2 separate regions of the Homo sapiens genome follow, and region 2 is linked to region 1. Evidence: promoter capture Hi-C in 16 types of primary human blood cells and fetal thymus (Javierre and others, 2016). All regions are on one chromosome and are shown on one strand. The core of a region is centred on a gene start or on the middle of the fragment in contact, and the rest is flanking DNA. Distances in the headings are between cores, read along the strand shown.

Region 1 (2,700 bases), core at 117-2,616:
AGACTCTAGATTCGTGAACCTCATTCACCTTCTTCTTCTAAGCTAATGCCTCCCTACCTTGGTCCTTTTCTATTTTCTGTACTCTCTATCTTGTCCTGGTGACAAGGCCCTCCAGGCCTGGCCCCACCCGGCCACCCTGTCCACCTCCCACCACCATCCACTGGCTGGTGCAATCTGCTGTTCAAGGCATAAATTTATTCAGTGCCCAGCCCCTCCTTCTGCAAGGTAACCACCTAGAAAGTTAGTCTAACACCCTTTCTCTGCCCTGTGTGGGGAGCCTGTGGAAGCTGGTCTCAGGATCTGGCTGGGTAAACCATCTGTTTACCTCTGTGTGGGTTCTGACACTCCTAGCCAGTTCTGTTTCTCTGAACCTTGTTTCTCCACTCTGCTTGCCAAGTCCCTTTGTCTTATTTTTTTCTCCCTCTCCCTCCTTCCTTCCCTCCCCCCATCCTTCCTTCCTTTTTTCCTTCCTTCCTTCCTCCCTCCCTCCCTTCCTCCCTTTTTCCCTCTCTCCTTCTCTCCCTCCTTCTCTTCTTTCCTTCCTCTCTTCCTTCCTCCTTTCCTCTTTCCTTCTCTCCCATTCTCTTCCTCCCCCTCTCTTCTTCCTCTTTTTATTTTTGTCCCATGCTTTAGGCCTTCCTTGGCCCTTCCTGGCATTGCTTTTCCTGACAGCAACACTCAATAATTTTTAAAAAGCACCTGAGCCCTTTGTGTTGACTGATGCCACCTCTGTTGTGGTGCAGATTTGTTTTAGAGGCAGATGTCCAGGGACGCTGAACACTGAAATCCATCCTGCAGAGCTTGCTGTAGGCAGAGTAAAGAAGTTTGCTCTGTAGTTTTCCCAACAGCCTTCTCAAATCCATGGGAGACGTCTCAGACACCTTGTATTTAATAGACAAGGAAATGAGCTCAGGAGATTTGCCCCAGGTTGTAAATTAAATCAGCACAAAGGTAGAAATGAACACAGAGCTCTCAGATTGGAAGCTGTCCAGACAGCTGCATGGAGCAGGGGCACAGCTCACTGTCTTTCAAAGCCTCAACCAGGGCTGTTGCATCTCGGACACTTGGCAGTTACTGGAAAGTCATGTTAGGCTTTCCTGTTGATTCTTTATCTTGTGGAGGAGTTGCACAGTCAATGCCTTGTTCAAGATTAATCATTTTCCCTGTTGCCTATGACTGAGGCTGTTTCTCACATCCTGCCCCTGGTTTTGCCTGTCCCAAGGATTTCGTCTGAAGGGCGGGACATTCCCCCTGCCTCTTCGCACCACAGCCAGAGCCTGCCATTAGGACCAATGAAAGCAAAGTACCTCATCCCCTCAGTGACTAAGAATCGCAGTATTTAAGAGGTAGCAGGAATGGGCTGAGAGTGGTGTTTGCTTTCTCCACCAGAAGGGCACACTTTCATCTAATTTGGGGTATCACTGAGCTGAAGACAAAGAGAAGGGGGAGAAAACCTAGCAGACCACCATGTGCTATGGGAAGTGTGCACGATGCATCGGACATTCTCTGGTGGGGCTCGCCCTCCTGTGCATCGCGGCTAATATTTTGCTTTACTTTCCCAATGGGGAAACAAAGTATGCCTCCGAAAACCACCTCAGCCGCTTCGTGTGGTTCTTTTCTGGCATCGTAGGAGGTGGCCTGCTGGTAAGTCATTCAGGATTATTACTGAATTCTCTCCTGTTTCCTAGATGTTTTCATTATGTATTTTCATGGAAAGTTTTTTGTAATGCATATTTCTAAATCAAGTGACTTTTTTGTTGCTGTTCATTCCTTTGAAAGCAGATTATACAAAAGCGAGATTGGTACAGTATAGCGTAGTAATTTTATGAGATGTTGTTTTACAAAATGCTCTTTCAACTAAAAGTGAACTGCCTTTTTGCTAAACTCTATAGGTAGGAAACAGATATTCGCTTTTAAATCAGATTTGAGAGACTATAGAGTTTCTACTAGAACGGGCAGTCATTTAACATTTGCTCTGGGGAGCCGGAAGGGGTTGGCTGGTTCTCTGCCTAAATCAACAGTTTTGAATCCAAATTCTCTGCTGTTTATTTTCAGCCATCTGTGATAGGGAAAAATAATGAATTGTGAGTGCATTGCTATTTTAAAAGAACTCTAAGCTTTCTCCTTTATGTAAGGCTGGGGTGTGGCGTCTAGGAAAAACCCTACAGTTAGCAGCAGGTCGGTGTCTGAAGCTAATAGTGGAATGTGTTATTTTTTCCAAGAATTGTTTTTGATTGAAGTGAGAGGAATTTCCCTGCCAACCTGGGAGCTGAAAGCATTAGCTTCAACCACAGCATGGAAAGAATGTGAGCAAACTTAAGTTTGCTACTTTAAAGTGCTGGGATTAAAAATTTTAAGGAGAAATTTTATGGAATGGTACCATACGTGATAAATTTTCTTAATCAAGTAAAAGATAGTAAAACATTTAAACCTAATACACTGATTATGGCATGGCAAATCTGCCCTAAATTATTTATTTAATGAGATTTTATTTAATTTTATTTTATTTAATGAGACGGGGTTTCGCCATGTTGCCCAGGCTGGTCTTGAACTCATGGGCCCAAGTGACCCTCCTACCTTGGCCTCCCAAAGTGCTGGGATTACAGGCATGAGCCACAGTGCCCGTCTGCCTCAAATTTAAGCATTATTATCATGTTAACATGATTATTTGTCTTAAACATAACATCACACTTAAGTTTC
Region 2 (2,700 bases), core at 5-2,504, 92 kb before region 1:
AACTTGGCCTCCACGAACAAAGAAATGTGAAATATTTTGTCTAAGGGAAGACAGTCACTATTCTCTAAGAGCTCTGACGCTTCATGACTGACTCCTCCATGCCTGGGCCACTTCAACATGAGTGTTCCCTAAAGCACCGGGGTCCTGGGAGAGGCTGAACTACTAAAGGGCCACATGGTCTGGAGAACTAGAAGAAACAGACCTCCCTCTCAGATGTCTCTATCTCACTATCTAGAGTTGTCATCGAGCTCTATAGAAGCAAGCAATTACATGACATTATTGTCCCTATTTTAGAGATGAGGAAACAAAAACAAGTGGTAAACACTGTTCTGGTTATCTTTTTTTTTTTTTGGAACCGGGTATCACTCTGTCACCCAGACTGGAGTGCAGTGGCACAATCTCAGCTCACCAAAGCCTTCACTGCCTGAGCTCAAGCGATCCTCCTGCCTTATCCTCCTGAGGGACCACAGGCACATGCCACCATACCAGGCTAATTTTCTTTTTTTTGAGACAGAGTCTCACTCTGTTGCCCAGGCTGGAGTGCAGTGGCACAATCTCAGCTCACTGCAGCCTCTGCTTCCCAGGTTCAAGCAATTCTTCTGCCTCAGCCTCCCGAGTAGCTGAGAACACAGGCATGTGCCACCATGCCCAGCTAATTTTTGTATTTCTAGTAGAGACGGGGTTTCACCATTTTGGCCAGGCTGGTCTCAAACTCCTGGGCTCAAGCAATCCTCCTGCCTCTGCCTCTCAAATTGTTGGGATACAGGTGTAAGCCACCACATCAGGCCACTGGTTATCTTTTGATGTATAATAAACCAACTCAAAACTGTGTATTTAAAACAATAATCATTTTACTTTATCTCAGGATTTTGTGGGTCAGGAAGATGGGTTGAGACAAACTGGGTGATTATTCTGCTCCAAGTAGTATTGATTGCGGTTATTTGCTGTTGTTCAGTTGTGGCCACATTGGTGTGCAGAATCCAAGGTGGTTTCACTTATATATCAAGGTGGCTTGATGGGAACAGCTATAACACTGGGCTCATATAAAGCTGGGCCCCTCTTTTTCTTCCTTTAGTCTCAGGGCTCTCCATGTGGTTTCTGCAACACTGTAGTTAGACTTTTACATGGTAACATAAGGCTCTGAGATATAAGTAGAAGCTGCCATTGTCTTAAGGCCTGGGCCAGAAAATGGGACAGGGTCACTTTGGCCAATTTTATTGGTCAGTGTAGTCAGAATGATCTCAAATTCAAGGGGAGGGAACATAGACCTCACCTCTTTATGAAAGAAATGTCAGAGAATTTCTGGCCAGCTTTAATTCACCACAGAGATAAAGGTAGATTTAAACCAAAGGAGTCTGATTATAGAGACCATCCTCTTAATCACCACAATATCCTGCTTCAGAAACCAAAGACTGGTACCTATTGTTTGCTCAACACAGAGAGGACAGCCTGCATGCATTTAGGTTTAAATCAAGGGCCTTTCTCTGCTACAGGGTAAATTATCTGGATAATTCCCACAATTGTGTATGGGTAGACACAGCCTGAGTTAGGATTTGCACTTGAGGAGCTAGCAGGCACCATCTACACCTTAAAAGTATCTCCAGTTGTTTTCAAAATTAGAATGAGAAATGCAAATCTCTTCCTGCCTCATGACTCAAAGGGGTGCTATATAGTCCTCTCTAATGCAGGTCTCAGTACAAAAGGGCACAGCTGTGACCTCTCAGAGAGGCATGAGCTCTGGCTGGTAAATCTGTCCCAGATGACCTGCCCAAATATTGATTTGTTTTAGCATTCTTTGATATCATCATGGTTATAGGTGAGAAGTTAACTTTCAACAGGAACTCACCCCTCACCCACTCTCCGTAAGGTAAAACATCACTAACTGCGGTTCCTCATCTTCTTTTTAAAATTAAACATGGGTTCAAAAAGAAACCAAGTTTAAAAATTCATGTTATGGCTTTAAAATGCAGAGAAATTTTAACACTGCATGTGTTTTTAATTTCTATAAATCTGACTTTATATAATTATGTATTATTCTTTTTGTCTGTGCCTTTGTACAAGTGTTTCCCCATTAGTTTTTAAAAATTATTTTTCCAAATAATTTTTGCTTATAAAAATTTACAAACATATTGGGAAATGATAACAACACCAAGACAGCAAGCACAATTTGGAAAAAAAAAAAAACATCAAAAACAACTGTCTTAAAATTTCATGTCAGTGAACTTTCATGGGGGTCAATTTTAGCTTTTGTATATTTATTCTTTTAGCACATTTTTTGAGCACTGATGTGTCAGGTACTGGAGACGTGTTAAATGGACAGAGCTTATAAGAAAAGGAAGATAGATATTAATAATGCTAATAACAGAAAACAGAGCAATTGTATGAAGTTGGTTCTATTTTAATCTGAATTTTACTCATAAGGAAACTGTATCCCAGAGAGATTAAGTAACTTTCCCAAGATCTCATCACTAGTAGCAGGAGACAGGATTTGATCTCAAGCAATCTAGTTTAAAAAAAAAAAGTCTGTGCTCTTAACCTCTACGCATGTTGCCTTTCATTAATCAAACCGTCTCAAAAACATATAATAACAAACTATAATTTGTTCCATGGACTAGAGAGAGCTATGAAAGCATATAGGGTAACAGGGGGATTCCAGTCAGGATAGGGAAGGCTCCCCTGAATAGGCTCCTTTGAAACTAT

Evidence for each region. Contacts are between HindIII fragments. The CHiCAGO score rates a contact against its expected background, and 5 or more counts as called.
Region 2: a contact is called between a fragment that was not itself captured here and the fragment with the promoter of TM4SF1 in region 1, in 1 of 17 cell types (endothelial precursors). The highest score is 7.4, in endothelial precursors.

The regions. Positions count from the first base shown.
Region 1 is chr3:149,376,315-149,379,014 of GRCh38, reverse strand. TM4SF1 (transmembrane 4 L six family member 1) reads left to right here and starts at 1,366. Exons shown (of 5, transcript NM_014220.3): 1 at 1,366-1,644. The coding sequence starts at 1,468. It overlaps TM4SF1-AS1 (TM4SF1 antisense RNA 1), which reads right to left and starts at 1,237. Exons shown (of 2, transcript NR_109810.1): 1 at 700-1,237. The HindIII fragment of the contact is 5,350 bases long and covers 1-2,119 here.
Region 2 is chr3:149,467,715-149,470,414 of GRCh38, reverse strand. No RefSeq gene overlaps it. Among named protein-coding and RNA genes, the nearest start is that of TM4SF4, 5.6 kb to the left of the region's middle. The HindIII fragment of the contact is 3,012 bases long and covers 1-2,700 here.